3 separate regions of the Homo sapiens genome follow, and all the other regions are linked to region 2. Evidence: promoter capture Hi-C in 16 types of primary human blood cells and fetal thymus (Javierre and others, 2016). All regions are on one chromosome and are shown on one strand. Each heading gives the region's core, a stretch centred on a gene start or on the middle of the fragment in contact. The rest is flanking DNA. Distances are from core to core; before and after follow the strand shown. Region 1 overlaps CD58 (CD58 molecule). Region 2 holds the start of TENT5C-DT (TENT5C divergent transcript). Region 3 has its middle 3.9 kb from the start of ATP1A1.

Region 1 (4,789 bases), core at 1,649-4,148, 1.0 Mb before region 2:
GAGGAGCGGCCAATCTCCTAAAATGTCTAGGCTAGTAATTGTATCAAATAACCTGTCCTATTAAGGCCATAAATATTCTCATATTAGTCAGTCCCAATTTTGGGGGTAGAAAATGTGCTTACCAGGCATGGAGATAATAAAGAGGAGTAGCACTGTTTGTTTTAACTCAATCAAGTTTCATACAGTTGTGACTCTTGCCTAGCTCTTAGCAAGTCCAATCCAAGGAGCCCTAGGCCAGCTCAGCCTCAGTAATAATATTTAACAGTAGCAGCAGCACGAAGATTCACTGCAGGCTTACTATGTGACAAGCACTTGTTCCAAGAGCTGTTTGTGTATTAACTCATTTAATCCTCAACTCAACTCTGAGGTAGTTCTTATTATTCATTTATTTGTTCATCAAATGTTCATGGAGTCCTGCCTATGTGCCAGACACTGAAATAAGCAGGCAGGATATAGCAATGAACAAAACAGACAAAATCCCAGCCCTCTTGGAGTCTATTTTTCAGTGGAGGGAAGAACATAATAAATGAAAAAGTAAATATCTTTTATTTGGATGATGTTGGATGATGTTAAGTGCTATAGAGAAAAATAAAGCAGAGTGTGGGGGCTGAGGAGTACTGGTAAGGAAAGGAGTTGGATGGCATGGGGGGCAGTCATAAGTTGGCATCTGAGCAGAGTCCAGAAAAGCAGGGGAGCGAGCCTAAGAACATCTGGGGTGAGAGTGAGAAAGGAGTTATTTCTTGAGAACACGCCTATCAAAGTAAGGTGGTTTGCTCCGCTGGACACTTGGTTGATAGAGAAGGTCAAAGATTCCGAAGCACCAGGCTACAGATGAAGAAATGGACTGAGAGGGTCAGCTGACTGCATTCACTCAGCTAGCAAGGGGCAGAGCTGGTGTCCAGACACAGGCAGTCGGCCCCAGAGCCTGCACTGTTGGCCAGAACATCAGATGCCTTGGTTGGGGCCATTCCTCTTTTTTCCTGATCGATTCCACCCTTAGCCGGTCCCAGTTAGTGACTTCTCTTATTTCCTTAAGACAGAGATTTACTGATTTCAGCCACACCACCACCAGTTTCCCTGCCCTCATCTACTTCATACTGAAACTGCAGCCACCTGTCTCCCAACGGTTACAAACCCTCGGTCCCCAAGGCCAGAGCAAGGTTCCCGGACCTTGCTCTCAGCTGTCAATCTGCCTCCTCGATAAGTTCATCAAGAATTAAGATGTTGGTTCTCTAAATCAACTTCTTTCTGTACTTTCCTTCTAATATGATGCTAAAATAGTTTCCTTTTTAATTCTTGTTCTTGCACTTAACCTATTTCTTCTTTCTCAAGATGTTTCCCTTTAGACCTATGCAATCCATCAAAGTAGCTACCAGCTACAAGTGGCTAGTGAGAACCTGAAATATGGTTAGTTCAAATGGAGATGTGTTCTGAGTATCAAATACACACCAGAATCTGAAGACCTGGTATTAAAAAGTGGAACATAAAATCTCTTGTTAATATTTTTTTGTAGTAACTACTAGGTTAGTGCAAAAGTAATTGCCGGTTTTTGCCATTAAAAAAAAATAGCAAAAACCACAATAACTTTTGCACCAACCTAATACATGTCGAAATGAAAATATTATGGATATATTAGGTTAACTAAAATATATTATTAAAATTAATTTCACATGTTCCATATTATACTTCTATTTGAGAGCACTTCTTTAGCCTGTTGTTTCAAGACACTCACATCCCACCTTTCTCAAAGGCCACATTTGTCTTTGACTGTTCTCACCTTAGATAGGATACAGCTGAGATCCACAGTATGCTTTAGGGAATAAGGTTCTTACTAGATCGGTTAAGGCTGTGAGTGTTTTTAAATCTATTCTCCAAAGTCTGATTCAAGGTATTTCAATACAGTACTGATCATTTCACTAAAATTCCTTGAGAATCCTTGTTATTTTCTAGATACTCAGTTCATCGTTGGGAAACTCTATTGCAAGTAGTTTACAATGGCACAGCCTCATTAGTTTCTTATTAATCTGATTTTTTATTTTTTTCTGAATGTGTATGTTAAACTTCAATTTTCTTCTAATTTTTAACTGGCATAGGAAGAAAATGTTCAAGAAACTACAGACTGGTCAGCCCAGTGGAAATTCAGGCACTAATCTCAACAGACATTTTGGGGAACATTGTAAAGTAAGCAAAGTTCACTAGAACCTATAAAGTAACCAAAAAGCATTTTCCTTGGAGGCTGATGGGCAGGCACTGAAAGTTATCTCCAAAGAGGAACTGCTAAAATGTTTTCCCCTCCTTTTCTAGGGACAGTCTCTGTATCTTATAGTCACACTTTATATTCAAACCTGAACTTATCTGAGAAAAGAGAAACGGCTGCATCCTGGTTTCACTTACAACCCTGAGATGGAAGTTGAGATTTGTCATTGCAGAATTTAAGGGTCTGTGTCCTTAAGTAAAACCTTCTGGTCACCCCTCAAGTAAAGCTTCAAAAAAGCTTAGGCACTTGTGCAGAAACAGCATGAGAAGAAACCAAAAGGCAGAAAACTTACACATATAAGGGCTGATTTATGCAAAGTTTCTACTTTTAAACAGAGAAACCAATACCTACCCTCAAAGCCTGTATTTACTAAAGAAATGTTAGAGTGACAAGGAGGTCAATAAAATAAATTATTCAAATCTGGTTCTTAAAAAGAGGTTCTAAGACTATTTTAAAACTTCTGAAAGATGCCCATCAAAATTAAAACAAAAAAACATAGCAACGAATACAATGAGTGAAACTTGATTAGATCCGGGTTTTTTAACAAAAGACACTCTTGTGACAAGTGGGGAAATCTGAATACGGGTAAAAGTTAGGTGATGTTACAGGATTAGTGTTAATATTTATAGATGTTATGATGTTATTGAGATTATGCAAAAGTGTCTAGGAGTGAAATGTGGGTACCTAGAGAATGTAAATATAATAATGTTAATAATAAATATGTCAATAAATTGCCATTGTAAATTCTATGTCCCAAAGAAGCACCCCTCACCATTACAAATTATGATATTAAATACAATTTTGCATGACTGGTAATTGTGCTGACCTATATTTCCCATGTTTTAGCAGAATTTCATTGGACAATGTATACATGTTGGATATAAGAAATCAGTAGTACTCATCTTCAAAAAGTTGCTTAGTGGATCTCAGGCTAGGGATACAACAGAGCATATAAAGGAATAGGTTCTGATTCAGAGAGAATCAAAGTTCAAGTTCACTCTGCCACTTATTTGCTGTGTGAACTTGGACACATTACTGAACCTACCTAAGCTTTGTTCTCCTATTAAATGTTCCCTATGTAATAAAATCAGTGTGACAATTAAATAAAAACATCTCAAATCTGAAGCATAGCTCCTGGCACAGAGCAGGTACTTACCTCCTAGTGGCTATTATTACTTACACTCTGTTATAACACTGGGCCTAGTTTTCCTATAGGAACACACAACACTATTTTAACTTGGATTATCTTTGCTAAATAAAAAAACACAGACTGTCTAAGTCTCAACTCCAGCAAAGCACATGAACAAGTCTCACATAATAATGTGAGATAATTTCAAATGGAGAAATGCTGGACAAATACATTGTCATCTAATGTTCAGATTCAACAATCTTTACTATTAAAAAAAAACAGATCAATATAAGGAAAATTTTAAAAAATAATACATGACTTCTGCATACAAGGAACTTAAAATCTAGTTATGCAGATAGTTGGCAATAAAGGATCTGTAAAATGTCAACAACAGCAGAATAAGACAGACTCTGTTAATAATAAAATAGTTCCTACCTTTTTATTTTTTATTTTTTTGCTCTGTTACCCAGGCTGGAATGCAGTTGTGTCATCATGGCTCACTGCAGCCTCAAATTCCCAGACTCAAGCAATTGCCAGGCTCATCTCAGCCTCCTGAGTAGCTGGGACTACAGGCGTGCACCACCACACCTGGCTAACTTTTTGTAGAGATGGGGTGTATTAGTCCATTCTCGCACTGCTAATAATGACATACATGAGACTGGGTAATTTATCAAGGAAAGAGGCTCAATGGACTCACAGTTCCACATGGCCAGGGAAACCTCACAATCATGGCAGAAGGCAAAGGAGAAGCAAAGTCATGTCTTAATGGTGGCAGGCAAGAGAGAGCGTGTGCAGGGGAACTCCCCTTTATGAAACCATCAGATCTTGTGAGACTTATTCACTATCACAAGAACAGTATAGAGGAAACTGCCCTCATGATTCAATTATCTCCACCTGGCCCTGCCCTTGACACACGGGGATTATTACAATTCAAGGTGAGATTTGGGTGGGGACACAGCCAAACCATATCATTCCACCCCGGCCCCTCCCAAATCTCATGTCCTCACATTTCAAAACACAATAATGCCCTTCCAACAGTCCCTCAAAATCTTAACTTATTCCAGCATTAATCCAAAAGTCTAAATCCAAAGTCTCATCGGAGATAAGGCAAGTACCTTCCACCTATGAGCCTGTAAAATCAAAGGCAAGTTAGTTACTTCCTAGATACAATGGGGGTACAGGTGCTGAGTAAATATATCCATTCCAAATGGGAGAAATTGTCCAAAACAAAAGGGCTACAGGCCCCATGCAAGTCCTAAATCCAATAGGGCAGTCTTAAACCTTAAAGTTCCAAAATGATCTCCTTTGACTCCATGCCTCACATCCAGGTGACGCAAGAGATGGGCTCCCACAACCTTGGGCAGCTCTTCCCCTGTGGCTTTGCAGGGTACAGCCATCCTCCT
Region 2 (4,708 bases), core at 856-3,355:
TACAAAACACTAGTCATAAGAGATAAGATTAATATTTTGAATGTCTTTAAAATTAAGTGCTTCTGTTCATCAAAAGATAACATTAGAATAATTAAAAGTCAACACAGATTGGGAAAAGATATTTGTTATACATATATTGGACAAAGGGCTCATATTCAGAATATGTAAAGAACTCTTATAGGTCATTAGGACAGACAACTCCCTACAAATGAGCGAAAGACTTGAACAGACACTTTATTAAAAGGGTATTGAAATGAACAATAAGCATCTGAAAAATTGCTCAACATCCTTGATCATCAAAAAATGCAATTTTAAATCACAATGAAATACATATCCCCCCCCTTTTTAAATTAAAAAGACTGAAAATACCAATACTGGCAAAGATGTGAAACAACCGGAAATCTCATATCACTGGTTGGAACCTAAATTGTTATACGAATTTAAAAACTGGCAGTGTATTTAAAGTTTAATATGTGAACACTCTATGAACCAGGAATCCAATCCTAGGTATATATATATATCCAACATAAATGAATGCTATGTCCACCAAAAGACATGTGTAAGAATGTCTGCAGCAGCTTCATCAAAGGCAGAAACATGAAGCAACTCAAATGTCCACCAACAGTAGGATGAGTACACAAATCGTTGAATATTTATATAATGAAGTAATACACAGTAGTGAAAAAGAATGGACCATTGTTACACACAACAATATGGATGAATCTCATAGACGCACTGTTGGGCAAGAGAAGCCAGACATAAAATTGTACGTGTTATGTATTTCATCCATAGCAAGTTCAAATATTGGTAAAACTAATCTATGGTGATAGAGGTTAAAATAGTGGTAATCCTTGTCGGATACTGAATGGGAAGGGGCATGAATGAGCTGGAAAGGTTCCACATCTTGATATGGATGGCAGTTACATGGGTATGCATATGTAAAAAATTATCATTCTGGACACTTTTGATTTGTGCGCTTTACTGAATGTTATACCTCAAAAACAAAAAGTAAAACAAAAAATCAGATCATATGTCTTGATTTCGCGTCTAACAATAGGATCACTGGCTTTCCCTATAAACACTCATATTGATGTCCTATCGCATTAAAGTTCCTGGATACTCACTCTCCTCTCCCTCGCTGGGAAAGACATATTTGAGAACTCTTCATAGTCTGACAGACAGGAGAACCACACTTATTTCAGGCAGGGTTGGAAGAGTAGGGCGGAGGAGATGTAAATACTGCATCTGGGAAGTAATCTTTTCCCCCAGCACCTAGTAAACGATCAATACAAGTACAATAATGTCTATTGATAAATAACATTGTCCAACATTGGCTACTATCTGATACATACAGCATTTGCCACACACTTTCTAACAGGCACTAGGCAATGCACTAATTGTTTCCCACGTATTTTCTTAATACTTATATAATTCTACAGAGCTGTCCCATTGTTAGTCTTGTCCTACAGATAGGAGACGCAGGTTGTTGGAGGGTTGGTTCAGTTACTTGCCTAAGGCCTTACAGAAAGTTTAAGTGGTGCATGGAGATCTCAACTCAGATTAGTCTGAATTCAGAACCTGGGCTGTAAACCACTCGCTATGTTATGAATGGATGGTGTCCAAGCCCTGCCTGCATGTTATATAACACACTGGACCAAGTGCTGTGGCATTCCGAATGGGGCCGAAGCGGCTGCGGCTGCCGACATTGGCGATGGACTCCCCGAGGCCCTTCGTCCCACTAACTGCACACAGGTGGTCCCCGGGGCCAGAGAGCCGCCGGCGCTCTCTCCCCGAAGACCACGCCTTCGCCTCCAGCCAGTTTGCTTGGGGAATCAGAAAGGTGCCCAGGGCCCAGAAACCATTAAGTTTTTTCCGACTTCAAAAACACACACCGGAGGTAGGCGTGGGCGTTACCCGCCTCACTCCTGGGGGCAGGGAGAACCAACGCGAAAATCCCCAGAGAGGCGGAAGAAAAACCTGCCTGCGAGAGAATAGGATGGAGATGGGAAAAGCCTGGGGAAGAGAGAGTTATGCGGCAGGAATAGCAGAAAAGCGTACTAAGCAAAAAGAAAGGTGTCCCACTAACTCCGAAGTTAAGTGGGTGTCGACGCAGCCCCCTCTATTGCGCTTGCGCAGTGCTGCCTCCCTGAGCACCCCGCCCCTTCCCGCCGCTGAGGATTTACTCGTCTCTTGGCAACCATTCACCCGAAGAGCCAATCAGAGGGCAGCCCTCGCCCCGCCCCTGCCGTCAGGGCCGGGCGGAAGGGTCCCGAGGGGACTGGCTCCGCCACGCCCCGCCCCTGGCTCCCCCGGGAGGGCGGCTCAGGGGCGGGGACGGGGGCGTGGTCCCGCCGTATAAGAACGGAGGGGGCGGCGGCGGGACGGCTCACTCGGTGCCGCTGCCTAGGGGCTGTAGAGGTCGCGCCGCTCCTGCTGGGGCCTGCCCACGCCAAGGACCTGCCTCTGTCGCCTCCTCTTCTATTGCCCAGGTGAGTCCGCGACCCCCCTCCTCTAAAGGTGCGGCGATGCGGCAGCAGCCCCAGGGAGCCGCGAGCTCACTTAGTGGGGGTCCGCCCCCACTAAGTGGTGCTCAGGTCTTTGCCCAGCCTGGTAGGGGGCAGGCGGACCCGAGGGGAGCTGCGGACAGGTGCCGAGACCCGGTGCTCCTTTCCCCTCCTGCTCCCTCGAGGACCCCCGCCCCTGACACACCCGTCCCAAAGGGCCAGAAGAGACGCTCCGAAAGGGAGCTACAACTTTCCAGAGACCTGGGGCTTGGCAAACTCCAGCGAGTTCCTGCTCCGCGCGTCCTGCAGGCTGCGCGCTGGCCAGGCGCGGGCAGGGCGTCTGAAGAGTGTGTGATCGGCGCCTCCGCTCCTACCTGGATCAGACGGCGCCCCCCGCCACCCATGCCTCCCTTCCTGGCTTGCAGTCCCTCGGGCTCGCCCCGGCGCTCCCGCGGGCGCGCACACCTTCGCCGGCCCGCCGAGTGTGAATTCGAATTCGGCGGTTTCACTAGGCGCAGCTGGAGACGCAGCGGTCCGGGGCTTGGATCTGGTTGGGGAGGGGAGGGGCGCTTCCTAGGCTCATTGCCAAGTCCTGAGTTTTAAGGAGAAGGGCGGAGATCCTTAAATTTAATGCGCTCACATCAGACTGTGGACACCATGAGCAGCAAAGGGATCCAAGCCAGTGACTTGTGCGCTGCGCGTCTCTCAGAAACTTCTTGGGAATGCGGTGTCTGTGAAACCTGCTTCCTCTCCTTTTGAAAATGAAACTTGCTTTACTGCGTAGGTGAAAAGCCACGGCAAGTGGGTCGACTCGGACGGATACCGGTGCGGCTGCCCCGGGAGGTGTCGCAGTTCGGGGACTCCCTTCGCACTGGTCGCGAGGCAGGAGGGAGCAGGGTGGGAGGCGAGTCAGAGGAGGGTGACTTACCTGAAGAATACAGGTTGGTAGCCTGCACACCTGAACTCAACGCTGGCGGGCGAGAAAACCAAGCAGCGCTACCTCCAAGTAAGGGCGCTCCCCTGGAGAAATGAATGCCTGGCGAGCTTCTGGAGAACCCACTATTAGGGCTGGACCCTGCGGGAGGGATAGTGTCAGCTCCCTTCCCCTTCGCCCTTTTTTGTCCATAGGTAGGCTTTTGTAGGGCTCTAACCAGTTCCCTGGCTTAATTAAGTAGGGGCCTGCTTCCTTTTTAACATTTTTGCTTTCTTACGGAGATATAAAGTGCATACAAATGAAGTGCTTAAAATGCACTTATAGTAAGAAAGCTTTTATAAATACTATGTGCATAATTATTTGTATTGTGACAACTTGGTCTTCAGGTTACTTTGTAGGTGGGTTAGGAGACTGAACCAGCCCAGGAAATAAAGTTAGGGTGATTAGATCCTCCCAAAGTACACTTCTGGCTGGCTCAGCTGCCCTCTGCGTGCAGGAAAGAGGGTGACCGTTGTTGGCGACAGCAACCTTTCAACGTGAGTAAATTGGCAAGGAAATGAGCCCAGGAAGTAAGTTGGGCAGCCGCAAGAGTGGTAGGAGAGCTTACCCAGAATTTTACTGTCTTAAATCCCCAAGGGTATTATTGAGGGTGTGAGACCAGCCACGTTAGGCCCTGCAGTGGAAAAGGGGGAGGGGGATGGGGAGTAAAGAATGCTGACTTTTCTCTGGGCTTTTAGGGAAACCTCTGAGCTGGGCTGCAGGGGTTCTGTCCTTTGACATTCTTGTTTGTGAAGATGGAAAATGATCTCTGGAGTCAAGCTTAGTTTATTTCAGATAATGAACTTTTTCTCTTAAGGTATACCCATAGCTTTAGAGTACATATATTCTCAATAAAGAGTTTTTAGGAAGATTTTGGTATATTGTATATAATTGTTCAGGTAGCTATGCGGGGGTAGGGGGCTCCCATAACAAAGTTTAAAAAAAAAAAAAAACTCTGCCAGGAGGCCTCTAAATTGTTACCAAAACAAAGATCCCTAATTTCATAAGCAGCTTCAGTGAGCACATAGAATTAACAGCCATATTTCTTACGCTGTTTTTTCCACAATACCTACCTTGTATCCAGGGATTAAATTCATGTAATTCTGAAGGAAAGGATTTGGCTCTTAGCCTGCTTGTCAGAGTGAGCATGACTTAGTTGTGCACCTGTGGCTATCTCTACCTGGTTTCTTCTCTTGTACCGTGAGCACAAGTAGCCACTGAAATCTCCCGA
Region 3 (4,484 bases), core at 669-3,168, 1.2 Mb before region 2:
TGTTGACCAATTGTTAAAATTATGTCCTAATTCCAGTTTTTCATCATATCCAGCAATTCAAAAGCTTCTGTTCAAGAGAAGTAGTAGATAATAGGGATGGTAATGGGAGTTAAGGCATGCTGCCTGTGTGTGCACAAGAAAAGGAAGAAAATAAAATTAGCATACTATGACAAAAATATACAAGGAGATATAGGTATCTTGAGATTCTGAATTCAATAATGTGATCAGAGAAGCTTTCATAAATGTGCTGGCTATGAAGGCATATCTACTGGAGAAATCTTTCCAAAGCACAAATCTGATCATGCCCTGCCCCTGCTTAGAACCCCACAGTGTCTCCCTATGGCCCATAGGATAAAGTCCAAGCCCTTTGATGGCATCCAAGTCCTCCACAATCTGGACTCTGCTCACCTCTCCAAGCTTACTTCCTGCCGCCATTCCTCTCACAACCTAGGCTCTCGCCATTTTAATCTTCTGGCCAGTCCTCCAACACTCAGTTTGTTTCTGTCCTGAAGACCTTACCCATGTGCTACTTTTGCTTGCATCCTCCTGGTCCTGCCTAACATGCTGCCATTCCGTGAACTCCTAACCATCTTTCACAATCCCAGCCAGGGAAGCCTTTCCCACTCTGCAGACAGAGCTGGCCACTTCCTCCTTCATGCCCCCATGAAGGCCTGCATATATGCAGCACCTCTCACTGTGTTACTAATATCTCTTTGCATGTCTTTTTTTTATGCCAGATGGTGAGCTATTTGAGGGTAGAGAATGTGTCTTAGTTATCTTTATACAACAGCAACAAGCACTGTGCTAGGCTCAGAGTAGATATTCAATAATGTTTATTCTGATTTTTTGCATGAACTAGTTCTTACTTCTGTTAAATACTATACACTACCAGAGTTAAGGATTGGAGTATGCTCTTTATAAGAGGGGGAAAAAAGGGGGAACCCTTCTTAGGGGCTTATTTGTAAGAGTCCACATGTAGAGGTCACCATCGCCAAAATGGAAGCCTCCAGAGTAAAACATAAGCTGTTAAAAATGAATTGAGCTGGTTACTATTTTTGCACCTGACCTACTTTTTGGTTACTTCTGCTGTTGCAAAAACTTCCATTCTTATAAATGAACCAAACCACTTTTTGATGGTTTTGTATTCTCTCCTCTTAAGGTAGCTTTTTACTGAAACAAAAATCTGCACAGTCTCTGAAACCCAGCTTTAATGCAAAGGCATCTATGGAAGAGTATTATTCCCAGTAGGACCAACTTCCAAAGAACTCTCTCAATTGTTTTTCCATGGAAGAGTTTAAGGCCAAGAATAGCAAATCTATCCACCACGATGATGGCACTTATTTCCTTAGTGCTTGTGGTTGTGCCCCCTGGAGAGCAGGAAGGGTTAGATGCCAGTTACCTCCCGCCACCTCTTCCCAGCTTTGGGCTTGCCCTTTCTGAGCTGTAAGGCTGCCTGAAGCTGTGTCTCTGCTGGTTGGATGAAGATGGGACTCTGGCAGTGGAATATTTTTCAGTCCAGATCCCTTCTTTGTTACCATTTGATTTTCTTTTTTTTTTTTTTTTTTTTTTGTTGCAATGCCTCGGTAGTTGTTGATTTGCAGAAAACAATTGGTGAGTTTTTAAATGTAGGATATTGTAACATCACATAGTGTTGTGAACTAGGGTAAGGGGAGTAGAACTGTATTGGCAGAGAGTGCTAAAGGAGAAGGCAGAATCCTGGCTCAGGATCTGGTATAAAACACACAGGAAACAACTAAAGAATCCTTTATTACTGCTTTATTTACGAAGACCGCTATTAATAACAGCAAATTATTTAAAGGGCAGCTGGGTTAAAAGGATGCTGAGTAAAACACCAAGGACTTGATTCTGTTGTGGTTGGTGATAACCTACAATAGTTACCAAGTAAATGCAGACTCTTTCAAATTTCCCAGTTTCCCAGAGGCACAACCTGAAGTCTTCAACCACCACTAACAGGAGAAAATATGTTTAAAAGAATACTAAGGAGCTTTCAAAAGGATTAAGAAATGGCTCGGGGGCCGGGCGCGGTGGCTCACACCTGCAATCCCAGCACTTTGGGAGGCAGAGGCGGGCAGGTCACGAGGTCAGCAGATCGAGACCATCCTGGCTAACACGGTGAAACCCAGTCTCTACTAAAAATACAAAAAATTAGCCAGGTGTGGTGGCAGGCGCCTGTAGTCCCAGCTACTAAGGAAGCTGAGGCAGGAGAATCGCTTGAACCAGGAGGCGGAGTTTGCAGTGAGCCGAGATCGCGCCACTGCACTCCATTCTGGGGCGATAGAGCGAGACTCCGTCTCAAAACAAAGAAAAAAAAAAAGAAAGAAAGAAATGGCTCGGCTGCGCTCCATTCTGGGGCGATAGAGCGAGACTCCGTCTCAAAACAAAGAAAAAAAAAAAGAAAGAAAGAAATGGCTCGGCGTGGTGGCTCACACCTGTAATCCCAGCACTTTGGGAGGCTGAGGCAGGCAGATCACTTGATGTCAGGAATTCGAGAACAGCCTGGCCAACATAGTGAAACCCTGTCTCTACTAAAAATACAAAAATTAGCCTGGCACGGTGGTGCGTGCCTGTAATCCAAGCTACTCAGGAGGCTGAGGTACAAGAATTCCTTGAACCCGAGAGGCAGAGGTTGTAGCGAGCCGAGATTACACCACCGCACTTCAGCCTGGACAAAAGAGTAAGACTCCATCTCAAAAAAAACAAACCAAAAAAAAGGTAAGAATGGAGAGTCTGGGAGGAAAAGTTATAGGAGTCAGAATTATTTGCTGACAGATTTTGATAGTCAGCAATGCACCCAGAACTGTGCTTTTAAAGACAGGTGATATGTCTGCTGCTGAACAGAAGAAAAGGAAATAGATTTGCAATGGAGGCACAGAGATTTGCAATGGAGGCACAGATAATGGCTAGGGGGAACTTTGAATGATGAAGACAGTTGACTTTAAAGCAGCAAGAGTGGCTTTCTGGGTAACGTGGAAAATTCTGGATAATGTGGGAAATAGGTAAAGGATAAAGATGCATGCTTATGACTGTTTCCATGCTAACTCGGGAGCACACAAAGCCAAAGAAAATTCTGTCCTTCCAGATCTCTAGCTCATAGATCCCCAAAATTTTTGTGTCCTATGGAAAATGCTAAGTTGGTGTGGGCTCCAACTCATATTTTAAAGCCTTTAATTGCAATGATGTGTTTATTCAATTCAGCAAATACTCAAAGTGCTAGCGTTCTTGGCTCAAAAAACTGACTTGCATCATATTTTTCATACATCTGCTGACTCTATTCACAATGACTGGAGCAACCATCCACAGTTGTGATCAAATTCTCCTCGAAGCTATCCATACTTGGCAGCCTTAAGGTCTATAAATGCTGAGTCTCCAGGCCAATCAGTTTAACTGTGCCCCAAGTTAGAAGCTTGAAAAGAGTTGATAGGATAAGCAGCAGACAGAATAGAGAGCCTTTGCTTTCTTCACCCTCTCTTCTAGAATCCAAATTTGTCCCCTGCACTGGAGTTAGAAAAGCTACCTGAAAGTCTTGCCACTATTCTTGGAATATTCAATACCAATTACTCCCTGGGCCTCAGTTTCTTCATCATAAAATGAGGGAGCTTGATGTTTCATCTATAAGGTTTCATTTCATTCAGAAGCCACTCTTCCAAGGGAAGAAAAGAAGGCTTTTTCTTAAAAAAAAAAAAAAAAAAGGACTTTTCCTCCTTTGCTTACCCATTTTCCAAGGTGTCTCTCTCATATCTGAGATTTCCTTCTGCGCCTCAGACTTGGTCATGCCTTACCTTTTTCTTTACCTCAAAGACTTGTGAGAATTCAAGGGCACTGTGCATCTGAAATTACTGTGTGGCATCAAAAGCAAAATACAGATTTAAGATAATGTTTCTTATATTTTTTGCCCTTTCTTCACACCGGAACACAGCTAGAACTCTGGGATCCTCCTGAAAGGACCTTCAGCAATTTTCAGTTGCCAAATAAATAGCTCTAGATACAAAGGGAAGTGCCTTGATCTATCAGGGTTATTTTGTTGAGTGAATGAATGAGAATTTTACTTATGAGGGGAGAAAAAGGAGATCAGCTGGCAGGAGAAATCTACGTTGTTCCGACCCGTGCTTTATATATTTAGTTGTTGCCGCGGCACTTTTCCCATTCAGACCAGGGCCCAAGGAGTAATTAATCTTTGTTTTTATTTTTATTTATTTATTTTTTTGAGATGGATCCTCACTCTGTCACCAGGCTGGAGTGCAGTGGCGCCATCTCAGCTCACTGCAACCTCCGATTCTGTGGTTCAAGCGAATCTCCCGCCTCAGTCTCCCGAGTAGCTGGGATTACAGGCATGTGCCACTACGCCCAGCTAGTTTTTTTTTGTATTTTTAGTGGAGACGGGGTTTCACCAGGTTGGCCAGGATGGTCTTGATCTCCTGACCTCATGATCCGCCCGCTTCGGCCTCCCAAAGTGCTGGGATTAC

The links. The method cuts DNA at HindIII sites, captures the fragments that hold promoters and counts their contacts. A CHiCAGO score of 5 or more calls a contact.
Region 1: a contact is called between a fragment that was not itself captured here and the fragment with the promoter of TENT5C-DT in region 2, in 1 of 17 cell types (naive CD8 T cells). The highest score is 5.4, in naive CD8 T cells.
Region 3: a contact is called between a fragment that was not itself captured here and the fragment with the promoter of TENT5C-DT in region 2, in 1 of 17 cell types (neutrophils). The highest score is 8.6, in neutrophils.

Annotation. Positions count from the first base shown.
Region 1 is chr1:116,558,508-116,563,296 of GRCh38, forward strand. The region is part of intron 1 of CD58 (CD58 molecule); the gene reads right to left. LOC105378925 (a long non-coding RNA gene) reads left to right here. Exons shown (of 3, transcript XR_947739.2): 3 at 1-2,680. It overlaps MIR548AC (microRNA 548ac), which reads right to left and starts at 1,604; the gene lies at 1,517-1,604. RefSeq lists enhancers at 71-120, 1,172-1,411, 4,011-4,160. The HindIII fragment of the contact is 813 bases long and covers 2,493-3,305 here.
Region 2 is chr1:117,603,665-117,608,372 of GRCh38, forward strand. TENT5C-DT (TENT5C divergent transcript) reads right to left here and starts at 2,106. Exons shown (of 3, transcript NR_121626.1): 1 at 1,982-2,106; 2 at 1,125-1,272. It overlaps TENT5C (terminal nucleotidyltransferase 5C), which reads left to right and starts at 2,384. Exons shown (of 2, transcript NM_017709.4): 1 at 2,384-2,489. RefSeq lists enhancers at 1,198-1,698, 1,699-2,199 and a silencer at 2,110-2,449. The HindIII fragment of the contact is 6,964 bases long and covers 1-3,768 here.
Region 3 is chr1:116,367,087-116,371,570 of GRCh38, forward strand. No RefSeq gene overlaps it. Among named protein-coding and RNA genes, the nearest start is that of ATP1A1, 3.9 kb to the right of the region's middle. The HindIII fragment of the contact is 3,007 bases long and covers 416-3,422 here.